Linked DNA regions of Homo sapiens: all the other regions are linked to region 2. The links are contacts of gene promoters, found by promoter capture Hi-C in blood cells and fetal thymus (Javierre and others, 2016). All regions are on one chromosome and are shown on one strand. Each heading gives the region's core, a stretch centred on a gene start or on the middle of the fragment in contact. The rest is flanking DNA. Distances are from core to core; before and after follow the strand shown.

Region 1 (4,480 bases), core at 521-3,020, 3.5 Mb before region 2:
GCAAGCAAAGCAAGTAGATTAGGATCACATCAGCATTATGGCCTATTCCCTATCCTTACTAGACTTTAGGATCTTACAGGTCAAGAGAAAAAAATGAAACAAATGGTAGGCAAATAAAGCTATCAACTTTTTATTCTCCAAAGTAAAAATATCTGAAGAACAACTACTATCTATTATCATATTAAAAAATAGGATAGACAATTTCAAAATAAAACATGGTCCTTAAGAGTGAAGAAATTTAACTAAATGAAAAATTCATATATCTCATCTGAAATGCTTTGGACCAGAAGTGTTCTGGATTTCAGATTTTTTCAGATTGGGGAACATTTGCATTATACATACCAGTTGAGCATCTCAAATCTGAAAATCCAAAATCTGAAGTGTTTCAAGGAGCATTTCCTTTGAGCATCATATAAGTACTCAAAAAGTTTTGGATTTGGGAGCATTCTGAATTTCAGATTTTCAGATTTGGCATACTCAATCTGTAATTTTGTTTTTAATTTCTCTGCTGAGCTGAAGAAATTTCACCATAGAAGAATTCCAGTTCGCAAACTGGTATGTGAAATCATTTGTGCATCTGTCTCATCTCTTCTCTCTTTTGCTTTTTTCTAATGGATTTAGATTTTTGCTTTAGGAATTCAAAATCTAAACAAGACAAATAAGTAAATGAGTATAATACCATATAAATGCTGTAAGAATACATGGGGAAACAAAAATAAAGGAAGGTCTCACAAATTAGGCAAAAAAAGTTTGCCCATGAGAAAGAATGGGAAAGATTATAGGCAGCAAAAACGCTGTAGCTGAAAGCACAGAGACAATCTACGCATACGGCATATCCAAGATAGCCTCTACTGTGTACCAAACAAGTAAAGAGTAGTTATACTTGGCCGTAGAGTAAAATTAACTTTCTCTTCATTATTCTTCTTTTTTATGAACTTTAACAACAGAGCAAGCATTAATTTAATGATCAGGAATTTTTTTTAATTAATTTTATTTATTTATTTATTTATTTATTTTTTGAGACAGAGTCTCGCTCTGTCGCCCAGGCTGGAGTGCAGTGGCTTGATCTCGGCTCACTGCAAGCTCCGCCTCCCGGGTTCACGCCATTCTCCTGCCTCAGCCTCCTGAGTACCTGGGACTACAGGCTCCCGCCACCACAACTGGCTAATTTTTTGTATTTTTGGTAGAGACGGAGTTTCACTGTGTTAGCCAGGATAGTCTCGATTTCCTGACCTCATGATCCGCCCACCTCCGCCTCCCAAACTGCTGGGATTACAGGCATGAGCCCCTGCACCCAGCCTTAATTTCCATTTTTAAAGTAAGCTTAGGAAGAACAAACATAAGGCCTATTTTTCCGGTAGAAAGTAGTTTGGGTCAGGTTGTAAAATACAAATGTTAACAACTGAGAAGTAGGCAGTGAAGTCAAGTCCAAACAGACGATACCAAAAAAGGGGCTCATAATATTCCTTAGGTGTCTCTGTGAGACTCCTGGGCTAGGTGTACTCAATGTTACAAGCCTCCTTATCCGTATGGTCATTAGGCGGAAATTCCCCAGGTGGCAGGTACTAGCAGGTCAAATGCTTAAATATAATGCCCTTTGGAGTCACAAAGACCAAGGTTGCTATCTCCACACTACCACTTAACTAGCTCAGTGAGCCTGGGCAAATTTATCAGCCACTTGACTTTTTTATCTGTAAAGTGGAAAAATGCCTACCTCTCAAAATTTTTGTGCAGAACAACTTACATAATGTAGGTAATGAACTTAGTACAGTGCCTGTCCCCCTGAAAATTACAATTACAATATAAAACGCATTTGTATATGTAATTGAGTAGTAGATATTTGTTTACTCTATTGGTTTAGCTAAAGGCTTTAAGCATATGAAACTCCTTTGTCAGATGGAATGTCAACTTTTTAAAACTTAAATGAGTGCAAATTTTTAACACAAGTTCCAAATGTAGAAGGGACATTCCCTATTTGCGGTTAATTCTAAAATGAAGCTACCTTTAGAATGATCCTTCTGTAGGATCCAGAAATAACCAAGCGGCCTAGCCCCTAGATTCTAGCAACTGACAGAAAACTAGGTGGAGGTTTCCCATTCTTCCTTGTCTTCTTACTCCAGCGGGCTTCTGTATCCACTCTAGATTGAATAGGGGATGTTTTGTGTAGAGATGGGCCTTCTCTCTTCCAGTCCAACTCTGAAGTAACCGCCCCTTACCCAAGCTTTCTTTAAACTGGAATAACGCCAGCAGAAGAATGTAGTAGGTGTGCTTCAAGTGTCCTCAAATAATTCCCGCAGCTTCCAGAATCCTTGCAATAGCCCGCTGGACCATCTGCGGCAATTCCACCCACTTCCACGCACCTGCTCTTCTTTCTAACCCCAGTACGCAATCCTGCAGCCCCGCCCCCACAGCTGACCAATCAGAGGGCGCAAAGTGAGTCGGATGGGGCGGGCCCAGTTTGGCGCTGACGACGAATCACCTGCCTCAGACAGCAGGGGCGGAAGCGGAAAAGAGCTGAAAGTCTTGGTTTGGCCTTGGGTTCCGCTGTAGGGGAGGTCCCGTGCGAAAGAATGAGGAGATCCTGGGGCCTTACCTACTAGCGGAATCGACTGAAGAGACGCCTGCCAGTGCGGGAGGTAGGAAGCTCGATCCCCAAAGAAAAGAGCGAGTGGGCAGGCAGCTGCGAGACAGAACCGGAGTGTGCAGGGTCCCTAGAGGCCGGTTCCTGGTCTGTGCTGCTCTCCTGGAAGCCATGGTACAGGCAGAGCTCAGGGCGATCCCCAGGTGAGGGCAGCGGCTCTGCCTGGGATTCCACCGCAGTACAACCGGGTAGATGCGGGGTGGAGAAGAAAGGATGTTGCCTGCACTGCTCGCCAATAGCACCCTGAGAGGCTACATTTGCAGAAGCAGCAGCAGCAGAAGACACAGCGCCGGTCCAGGAGGCGGCTCGAGCTGTTCGTAAAGTCGCCCGACAGCTTTTTCTCCGTAGTATGCGAGTTGACAAAACAGCCAGAGAACAGGGCTCCCCATTACAATCTTTTCGAGATCTTTTCCCTTGCTAACCGGATCTGATTTGTGCGAAAACATGCCTTGCACTTGTACCTGGAGGAACTGGAGACAGTGGATTCGACCTTTAGTAGCGGTCATCTACCTGGTGTCAATAGTGGTTGCGGTTCCCCTATGCGTGTGGGAATTACAGAAACTGGAGGTAAGAGGGTTCTGCACCATCAGCCTGTACACTTTCTTCTACCCATCTATGGTTGGGAAAGAGACACCCTTACCCCATTTCTGCCCTGACAGTCCTGAAAACCATCTAATGTAAACGAGCCTACTCTTAGGATATAAACCTGTCTAATTTCTTGTTCACGGTTCTTCAAGTCATGCTACAGGTGGAGGTGGGACCGGGTCGAGAAAATAGAATATATTAATATAGCTGCTTAGAAGGGCACTGTTTTGCAAGTATTCATCAGTTCCCTGAAAGTAAGGTAATTTTATTGCTGAAATCTGATCTGTTCAGACATTGGACGAAACTAGGTCAAATAAACTACCTTGAAAACCATGTATTGAATTTTATTAGCTTTTAACTAGCTTCTTGAATCAAAGCGTTCTAGTTGTTTTAACTTTGGTGTCTGTTTTTACTGTGGAAATTAGCTCTTACCCAACAAAGGTTTTGCAAAAAGTCCCTTATATATATTTTTTGATGTCATATGCTTATTGTGACATCAGTAATGTACTACAAGCTGGAAAACCCCAAGGTAAATAACTCAGATATAAATATTATATAATGAACTTTAAATTCGGAGTTAATAAAACCCACCAAGTACTTTTACAGAGGAACACCTATTACAAGAACTATAATAAGACCATGACTATTTTAGGCCCTTCTTTATTGTGGAAATGATTTTTACATAAACTGTATTTAATATACATTTGTGTTCTCTATTTACACTAAATTATTTTCTGATGACTTTCCCATACTAGCATAGTCCATATAGTTTTTTGTTTGTTTGTTTATGAGACGGAGTTTTGCTCCTGTTGCCCAGGCTGGAGTGCAATGGCGAGATCTCGGCTCACCGCAACCTCCGCCTCCTGGGTTCAAGCGATTCTCCTGCCTCAGCCTCCCGAGTAGCTGAGATTACAGGCATGCGCCATCACGCCCGGCTAATTTTGTATTTTTAGTAGCGACGGGGTTTCTCCATGTTGGTCGGGCTGGTCTCAAACTCCTGACCTCAGGTGATCTGTCCTCGGCCTCCCAGAGTGCTGGGATTACAGGTGTGAGCCACCGCACCCAGCCCCATATACTTACTTGTTGTTGTTGTTGTTTATTTTTATTTATTTATTTTTGAGAAAGAGTCTAGCTCTGTCGCCCTGGCTGGAGTGCAGTGGCGCGATCTTGGCTCACTGCAACCTCTGCCTCCCAGGTTCAAGCGATTCTCCTGCCTCAGCCTCCCAAGTAGCTGGGATTACAGGTGCCCACCAC
Region 2 (5,011 bases), core at 1,558-4,057:
GCTCACTGCTGCCTCAACCTCCCGGGCTCAGACGATCCTCCCACCTAGCCTCCTAAGTAGCTGGGACCACAAGTCACCACCACACCTGACTCATTTTTGTATTTTTTGTAGAGACAGCGTTTTTTGCCATGTTGTCCAGGCTGGTCTCCAACTCTTGAGCTCAAAAGATTCACTCGTCTCAGCCTCCCAAAATGCTGAGGCGTGAACCACCGTGCCTGGCCTGTTCCATTTTATTCTATCTGAAAATATTAAATGATGGTTGAGACCCAATAAACTAATTTCACACCCCCTAACTTTTATTCAACACAATTACATTAAAACTGCTGATTGCACCATTTAATGTAAAGGGTCAGAAAAATATTAATAGAAAATTTTTAAAGCTTTTACTACAAAACAAAGTTGAGGATTGAAATACAGACCTCTGACAAATCCCTTAGGTGCTGGTGCTGCTAAAATAAATTAGATGCAGCTGACTTCATTAAGGTCTCTCCCTGTGGCTTTCACTCTTGGGCAGAAAGAGGAATCAGACCAGGAAGAAGGTAAGTTTGGTTTTTATGCTGGAGTAGGCAGACTGGGGGCCCATAATATATACATATACATACATATATATATATATATATATATTTTTTTTTTTTAGATGGAGTTTCACTCTGTCCAGCCCAGGCTGGAGTGCAGTGGTGTGATTTCGGCTCACTGCAGCCTCCACTTCCCAGGTTCAAGCGATTCTCGTACCTCAGCCTCCCGAGTAGCTGAGACTACAGGTGTGCACTACCACGCCCAGCTAATTTTTGTATTTTTAGTAGAGACGGGGTTTCACCATGTTGTCCAGGCTGGTCTCGAACTCCTGGCCTCAAGTGATCCATCTGCCTTGGCCTCCCAAAGTGCTGGGGATCCTCCTACCTCAGCCTTCCGAGTAGTTGGGACTACAGGCATGAGCTATCAAGCCGGGCTAATTTTTTTTTATTTTTAGTTGAGATTAGGTCTTGTAATGTTGCCCAGGCTGGTATCAAACTCCTGAGCTCAAGAAAACCTCCTGCCTTGGCCTCTTAAAGTGCTGAGATTACAGGCATGAGCCACCACCTGGCCAAATTAACCATCTTAATCATCTTTTTAAAAAAGAGATGGGGTCTCACTATGTTGCCCAGGCTGGAGTCCTACTCCTAGCCTCAAGTGATCCTCCTGCCTCTGCCTTCCGAATACCTGGAACTAGCGGCCTGAGACACCTGGCAGGGCTACCTTAACCTTTTTTAAGTGTAGAGTTCAGTAGTGTTAAGTACATTCATACTATTATGAAACTAAGACTTTGAATTTATCCTCCAGGCAACTGAGATTTATGGAATTACTGAAAGATTTCAGGACCCTACTAGAGGTTTAGGAAGGTTGTCTTGGGGGGTGGGTGTAGTGGGAGGTAGGGGATGGAGGCTAGCAGGACTGGAAGGGATTGTAAGTTTAAAAGCTTGCAGGGGGCCTTGTAAGTAAGGGTTGGTTTTGGCTTGGTCACAGGGTTTTCTGCCAGAGGGGAAGTTAGAGAAGGGAACTCAACACACCACTGGCTGAGTACCAAGCCTGTATGGGCCAGATGCTTTCCGAGGGCTGCACACTTGAGCTAGCCAGCCACACCTTGCCAGGATGTGCTCTGTTAACCCCTACAGTTAAAAAAAATGGGGGAGGCGGGTTTGGATTAGTTGCAAAAATGGAAACATTTGGAGATCTCACTTTTTTTTTTTTGACGCAGTTTCACTCTTGTTGGCCAGGCAATGGCGCGATCTCGGCTCACTGCAACTTCCGCCTCCTGAGCTCAGATTCTCGTGCCTCAGCCTCCCGAGTAGCTGGGATTACAGGCACCCACCCGGCTAATTTTTTGTATGTTTAGTAGAGACGGGGTTTCACTATGTTGGCCAGGCTGGTCTCGAACTCCTGAGCTCAGGCGATCCGCCCGCCTCAGCCTCCCAAAGTGCTGGGATTACAGGCGTGAGCCACCGCGCCCGGCCAACGCCCTGCTAATTTTATCATTTTCTTGTAAAGACGGGGTCTGGCTGTGTGGCCCAGGCTAGTCTCCAATTCCTGGCTTCAGTTGATTCCCCTGCCTCAGCCTCTTAAAGTGCTGGGATTACAGGTGTGAGCCAACGAGTTCGGTCTCACTCTATTTTAAAAAAACCTTTTAATCAATATATAACAGACATATAGAAAAGGACACAAATAAGCGTAGAGCTTAGTGAATGTTCACAAAGCAACAACACCTGAGATGAACCAGCATCCACATCAACAAGCAGAACGTCGCTAGCATCTCTGGAGTGATGCTCATTTAGCCCTATGAAACCTCATGAAGCCGACCGTTTTATCACCCCCATATTACGCATGAGGAAACAAGCGTGGAGAGGTCGGTCTCAAGCAAAGCCCTGTTGAAACCGGCATTTGAATCAGATCCGCTGACTGACTCCAAAGCCAATGCTCTCAAAAAGCAGGTTTGGGGGTTAGACGGTGAGTTCAGCTTTGAACGATGTTGAGTGGGCGTCTCGTTTTACAGAAACTTACTTCCCGACGTCACAGCCACAGAAACCACAGGTAACCAGACGCCTGCACGTCAGGCCACCGACGCCTTGGTCTACACAGCGCAGCCTCCAGTGAGCCCGCGGCATGCCGCGCGGCCTCCCCACACACGATGGCGATGTCGCAACCACAGTAGAAAGAGTGGCGCTCTCTACTGTCCCGGAATTCTTGAGGCCGGAAGAATAACAGGGCAAAGGTCACGTAGACGGCGCGCCCCGCCCCCGTACGCCTAAGTTCTCGCGCGACTCCCACTTCCGCCCTTTTGGCTCTCTGACCAGCACCATGGCGGTTGGCAAGAACAAGCGCCTTACGAAAGGCGGCAAAAAGGGAGCCAAGAAGAAAGTGTAAGTCGCGACTGTCGTGGCGTCTTGCTTTTTGGGGGTCTGCTGGAATCGGCGGGCTGGTCCTAGATCGCGGCGTAGGCCGGATGGCGAGGATTCCAGTCGGATTGTGCGGGCCGTGGCGGGTTGGTGCACCCAGGAACGCGGCCTGGAGGGTCGGTGTTGAGTAGCGGCAGGTCGGCTGCCTTTCCCAGGCCTTCTGGTCCTTGCGCGCGTCGCGTTTGAGCCGGCTTGCCGGCGCGACTCGGCTGGAATGTTAGTTTTGTGGGCTCACGAGCTGCCTCAATTCTGCGAGTGTTTGATGGCACTGCGACAGCAGGAGTTGAGGAAAGCACCCTTCTATCCATTCAGGACCCGTCAATCTCGCCTTTGCTTGGTCCCGCTGGAATCTGCGAGCTCCTGCTAAGCTTTGGGGCCATGCAGTCTCTTAGTTACCAGTACATGCCATTACGTGCCAGCAAAGTTAATGAGATTGCATGTTACTCGTGCCTGTGTAGTGGAAGGACCGATGCATGTTATTCTAAGTGCCTGTGTAGTGGATGGACCGATGAGGGTGGGAAGTGGACATAACCTTTCAAAGTCTGATGCATGCAGTGAAACGTACAGTGGGAAGAGCTAGATTTATGTTTGTTCCCCTCACCTCACTGTGAGATATACTTTGGTATCAAATTGCCGGTTAGCTTTTTAAAATATTAATGGGAAATACCATTAACAGTGAAAAATACAGTAAGAATTGATCTGCAATGGAACTTAAGCATCTTCTTAAAATCCAGGGTTGATCCATTTTCTAAGAAAGATTGGTATGATGTGAAAGCACCTGCTATGTTCAATATAAGAAATATTGGAAAGACGCTCGTCACCAGGACCCAAGGAACCAGTAAGTAGCTTATTCTTGGTTTGTATTTTCCTTAAGTTGGCGCTTGTATATTGTAGCAGGCATCTTGGTCTGTTGTTGGTCCTGTGGTGGGAGACTTTAAGGAAATGTCAGCTCTTGGTTGCAGCCTTGGCACCTGTGGTGATCATTTTTAGTACAGCACTTGGAGAGAAGCAAGATGGTGCTTTTTGAATTAAGAAAATGTGCCATGGGTAGTTCTGAGCTTCAAATAAGTACTGTTGATAAGTCACTGGTGTCTGGATAGATTTGATAACAAAGGTTAAGGTCTTTATAATTTACCATTAACTTAATTTCTACCCTCAGTTTACAGGCTTGACTTTGCTTATATGGTTCCTAAATGTTAAGATACTTGTTTTTTTCTTTTGTAGAAATTGCATCTGATGGTCTCAAGGGTCGTGTGTTTGAAGTGAGTCTTGCTGATTTGCAGAATGATGAAGTTGCATTTAGAAAATTCAAGCTGATTACTGAAGATGTTCAGGGTAAAAACTGCCTGACTAACTTCCATGGCATGGATCTTACCCGTGACAAAATGTGTTCCATGGTCAAAAAATGGCAGGTGAGACCCAAAGTTCCTTAGAGTGGTTGTGCTATGGGTGTTTGACCAAGGATAGCATGGTTTGATGACTGGAAGGAGCAAGTTCATTTTATTTATTTATTGAGACCAGTGAAATGTCCACAAAGTTCATTTTAAATTTTTGTTTTCTTGCCGTTGTTGAGTGCTAACTCTGGGGTTGCCACACCATATTTTACTTACTATTTAAATCTAAGATTTAATAGTGGTGTATCATCAAAGTCAGATTTTCTTGCTGCATAGATTAGTGGTTTTTTGAGGAACGTTTAGGTGCAGGTGGGCGGTTTTGCCTGTCTTAAGGATGTTTTTTGACCTCAGAATTGAGTGAATGTTGATTAACTGTGGCAGTAGAGCATAATTGTGGCAGAGCCTCTGGAGTGAGGTTAAAATCTGGGCTCCATTTGCCTATTGTGTTCTCGTTGGAAAGTAACTTGTTTTCTAAGCCTCGGTTTCTTTATTTGTAAAGTGCAGATAAGAGTGTCATTTTATTGAATTGTGAGGATGAAATGAAAATATTTCAGATGTGTCTGGCTAACTATCCAGTTGGAATATTTTGTGGGAGTTTTTTGTTTTTGGGAGATTGAGTCTCTTATCGTCCGGGCTGGAGTGCAGTGGCGCCATCTCTGCTCACTGCAACCTCCTCCTCCTGGGTTC
Region 3 (4,487 bases), core at 1,957-4,456, 4.3 Mb after region 2:
AGGCCTTTCCCCCAGTGTCCTGGATATTATTCTAGTGTTCTTTGCTCTGCTTACATCCTTTGCTCATTTCAAAGTTAATGAGATTGTGGGGTCAGGAAGAAAGGAGCAGTTCCCCAATACATGCCTGAAATAAAGTTTTGTCTGACGTTACCACTGGTATCTAATATGCAAAGTATGAAATATTTACCAGCACTGTATTTACTGATGATATGCAAGGAGATTTTTATGAAGGTTAACATCAACTAATAATTCCTTTATAAAATACAAAGAATGAAAAACAAAAAATCCTTAACCTTGCATATACAAGTTCATGAATGGTGGCCCAGGGTATGTGACAGGACTTGGTCTCCGTTTCATTCTATCTTTGTTCCTTTATGCTTAAAATTCAGTAAAATTGTGGGCAGAACTAACTGTAATCCCAGATCACACCAGGAACTTTCCTTTGGAAAACTGAATCTTAGTAGATTTTCATAGGCAATACAGAGATCAAATGGAGATTCTCTTAAGGAGTGCCTGGATGCTTCAACAAACAACAGCAGCAATAACATAACTCATCCTTCAAATATACAAATGTCAAGAAAATTTTCTGGCACAATGTTGGTATGGCAAAGACTGTTAGAAGGATTAGTCTCAATATTGCTGTAACTCTAATCTTTGGAGTGTGAGAGGGATTAGACAGCATTCCATTCCAGTTCCACACCTACAAACAAAACTGAAGCTCACAGGTCTAGGTGTCTGGAGATCCACAGCTATGGATGCTATGGATGACTAAAGGTGCTTTGGCTTTGTGCTTTGGCTTTCTATCAGGCAACAGCCTAGATGCAAGACAAAATACAACAGGTCTGTAAAATTGAAGTTAGACAAAATACAACAGGTCTGTAAAATTGAAGTTAGACAAAATACAACAGGTCTGTAAAATGGAAGTTAAGTCTGTCTTTTTTTCTTAAATATATACTAGCTACCATATAAAAATTTTGGGACTGATTATCTTAAAATAAACTTCCAAGAAATGCAATTACAGTAATCCTAACAAATTACCTGAAGATGTGCTTTTAATTGAAAGAATTCTGGGTTTAGGTTTCATTTTTATTTTGTCTTTTTCAAATTCCTCATCCTTATTTTGAGATTCAGAGAAAGATTTTACAACAATGTCTTCACACCCATCAGGTGCCATTTCCTCTTCATTTTTGATGGCACACACTGGCTCATCTTTGGTTATGTTACCGTTTGATTTATTGGTTTTCAAAAACAATAGTTTTGAAGGATTCTTTTCTTCATCATCTGATATATGAAAGTCATTCATTTTTTTATTAACTGAATTTTCATCTGCTGAAGTGTCAGAAAAATCACCTAAAGAAACTGAAAAATGGAAAAGAAAAATGTTTTCAACAGTATTTTTAAAAATTGTCAAGGTTACGTTAACTTAATCAAAGTTTACCTTAAAAGCTACAAACAAAATTCTAACAATGAATAGGCACAAATGTATTTTATAAATAGACTTGCAGCTCTAAAAACACAGCTAACTCAGGCACGTCTCATTAACATTTATGAAATAAAAATTCCAATTTCATTAATTTATTCAAAATGTATTTATTGTGTTGTCTGTAGGGTACCAAACAACCAAACACTGTTTGCTCTGGAAAAAGCCATCCAAAGGTCCCTAACAATCAGTCATGTAGCATTTAAATTAGATTATGGACTGTAAAACTTTTATTTGCAAATTACTTCTTCATGTAAAATCAAGAACATTTGTAAATGGAAGAATTTAATTAGTAATTACTAATTATATTTTTTCCATAAAAATTTTGGAACTACAATTCCATCCACACCAGAATATTAGATTTACTAAGAATCATAAGAAATGCTAAGTTAACTATACAGCAGTGATTTAACTGTGGTTATTACTGGTTTTACAGAAATCAATTACAATTATTCACCAAATTTTAAAGAATAAAACACCAGGCCGGGTGCGGTGGCTCACACCTATAATCCCAGCACTTTGGGAGGCTGAGGCGGGCGGATCACAAGGTCAGGAGTTCGAGACCAGCCTGGCCGATGTGGTGAAACCCCATCTCTACTAAAAATACAAAAATTAGCCGGGCATGGTGGCGGGCACCTGTAGTCCCAGCTACTCAGGAGGCTGAAGGAGGAGAATCACTTGAACCTGGGAGGTGGAGGTTGCAGTGAGCCGAGATTGCACCACTGCACTCCAGCTTGAGCAACTGAGCGAGACTCCATCTCAAAAACAAAAACAAACAAACAAAAACACCAAGTTTAGAATTCTGTATGCTTATACCTGAAACTAAAATGTTAATATGTTTACATAGCTAAGAGAAACCAAATTATAATAGTACTGATATATGAAACACGAAGAGTCTGTGGTTTTTAAATTTACCCCTTATCACAGCCAAAAAAAATCTGATTTATAGCAAGCTTTATAAAAGCACTTCTAATGTGCACCGAAGTTTAGTTCTGTGGGACTAGTTACTAACTAGCTGTAGCACCTCCTAGGGTTGATCTTAAAGATGAACCTGTCTTCTTCAATGTGGTTTACCACTGGCAGCCATCCTTTTACTGCAAACCTGCCATCAATTAATTTATATTTTCGTATACACATTCAGAAAACAAAACAACAATAAAAAAAGAAAATCATACAACTTCCTGAAAATTAAGAGTGGCTTTCTACTAATTAAAAAGTTGAAAATCTAAAATTAGTGAATGCTTAGGTATTATTTTAACATACGTGATTGAGGGGATGGGTGGTTGGGGGGCTGGCTAAATACAAAACTAAGGAAGCAAAAAGAAGAAAAGTGGTTCACGTTTCCATACTGTCACATACCAATCTCATCACTGTCAAAGTCATCTGAGTATTCAGAACTCCTTTGTCTGGCTGAGCGAGCTGTAATTGCTCTTATTAGCTCATCCTGAAATGAGATACTGAAATCAATTTCCATCCAAACATGGAGGTATCATATTCACAAGTAATTCTTTAAACAAACAATGCTTGATTAACGACTGCTTTCAAACTTAGGTTTCATTCATCTAACAAATATTTCCTGCAAGCTCACTTTATGCCATGTACCCACTTTACGCCTCATACTCAATGCAGAGCATCACAGACAAGAGCCCTTCCTCATGGAGCTCGCAGTTTAACTAGAGGAGACACACATTATGGAACAAATTAATTGCAGGTTATAATTAGAGCTGGAGGGTAACAAATAAGAAGGGGCTCAATTTAGATTATAATTTATTAAAAACTGGTATTTTGAAAGAAATTGGTATTTTTAAGAGCTTTTGTCTCGGCATATTTCAGAAATGGATGCAATCAATATTGCAAACTTAGAGGCTGAGTTCAAAATTGCAGTGACTCAACAGAAAAAAAAACTTAAACATTATGTTACAACAGAAAAAAAAGTTTTTATATAAAAATGGCAATTTAAGGTTGCGATTCAACTTTTAACTTAGTAGGAAACTAGTATTGAGGCTACTTTGGTAGTCTTAAAACCATATAGGGGAGTTTGTAATACTGGATGGAGCCCAAACATGATCATGTGCAAAACCTCAAAAGTAATATAAGATTTACCCCTGCTTTATATAGGACTGTTCTAGAATCACCAATTTCAACCCATCTAATACAGTGTTTACACTGTGAAATGATTCCAAATAAAAATACTTTACCTGGAAAGTAGTTCTTTTGGTAACTTTTGGACTCTTTGTATATGCCAAAGTGGTGCTAAAAACTTCATCAGACATAGTGTATTTTTTCTCGTTACCTTTATAAAATAGCTAATTATTAGAATTCAACTTCTGATAGTAGCTGAAATATACAAAACAAATCAGACTTCGCATGCTTCAGAATTTATTTTATTACATTTGATTCTACTCTCCCCACAAAGGTCAAAGAAAAGCATCTGATATGAACATTGGGCTACATCTTCACTTAAAAAGGTTCTTGTAAAGAAATAGCAAATTCTCATAACAAGCTTGTTTAAAAAAATTCAAATGGAAGTTATCCTAAAATAGTTTTGCAACTACTTAAAAAGTCTGCAAATAAATGATTACAAGTTAATACGACAAAATGCTGCCAATTAAAATAGAACACCTTATTTTTCACCTCTCTTCTAAAGTATAACATTGCCTTCAAAATAAGTCACGTCTTATTTAAAAGGCCATCAAAAGGATCGTCGGCGTAAAAATTATGAGCACCACCACCAAAAAAAAAATGTATCTATATATTTGCATACAGCGCTATTCAAAGAAAAAGATCGTAATGCTAACCCGCAAACAGCCAGCGAGATGTATTGCAAGCCAATTTTTCCTCTCACAAAAGTGTTAAAGAGAGCCAGACAAAACGACGAAGCTTTCGCGATGAGCCGCATTAAAATCGCGGTTTCCCGTACTCGGAGCAGAGGCCTGGCAGGGCCGCCCATAGCGTTGTGCGCCCCGGGTTCCGTTCCCTACCAGGCCAGGTGACGTCCGGGTGCTCG

Evidence for each region. The method cuts DNA at HindIII sites, captures the fragments that hold promoters and counts their contacts. A CHiCAGO score of 5 or more calls a contact.
Region 1: a fragment that was not itself captured here is called in contact with the fragment with the promoter of RPS3A in region 2 in 1 of 17 cell types (total B cells); the score reaches 7.3 in total B cells.
Region 3: a fragment that was not itself captured here is called in contact with the fragment with the promoter of RPS3A in region 2 in 4 of 17 cell types (total B cells, non-activated CD4 T cells, total CD8 T cells and 1 more); the score reaches 6.4 in total B cells.

Annotation. Positions count from the first base shown.
Region 1 is chr4:147,614,872-147,619,351 of GRCh38, forward strand. It overlaps TMEM184C (transmembrane protein 184C), which reads left to right and starts at 2,526. Exons shown (of 10, transcript NM_018241.3): 1 at 2,526-3,208. The coding sequence starts at 3,086. It overlaps TMEM184C-DT (TMEM184C divergent transcript), which reads right to left and starts at 2,374. Exons shown (of 2, transcript NR_186679.1): 1 at 2,217-2,374. RefSeq lists enhancers at 2,746-2,865, 2,896-2,945. The HindIII fragment of the contact is 898 bases long and covers 1,322-2,219 here.
Region 2 is chr4:151,096,821-151,101,831 of GRCh38, forward strand. RPS3A (ribosomal protein S3A) reads left to right here and starts at 2,808. Exons shown (of 6, transcript NM_001006.5): 1 at 2,808-2,894; 2 at 3,665-3,768; 3 at 4,155-4,342. The coding sequence starts at 2,833. RefSeq lists enhancers at 1,718-1,787, 2,065-3,264, 2,563-3,147, 2,568-3,127, 3,148-3,731. The HindIII fragment of the contact is 1,842 bases long and covers 1,455-3,296 here.
Region 3 is chr4:155,372,098-155,376,584 of GRCh38, forward strand. MAP9 (microtubule associated protein 9) reads right to left here. Exons shown (of 14, transcript NM_001039580.2): 2 at 3,679-3,817; 3 at 2,840-2,924; 4 at 1,039-1,359. The coding sequence starts at 3,753. Among named protein-coding and RNA genes, the nearest start is that of MAP9, 2.6 kb to the right of the region's middle. RefSeq lists an enhancer at 4,321-4,487. The HindIII fragment of the contact is 1,550 bases long and covers 2,432-3,981 here.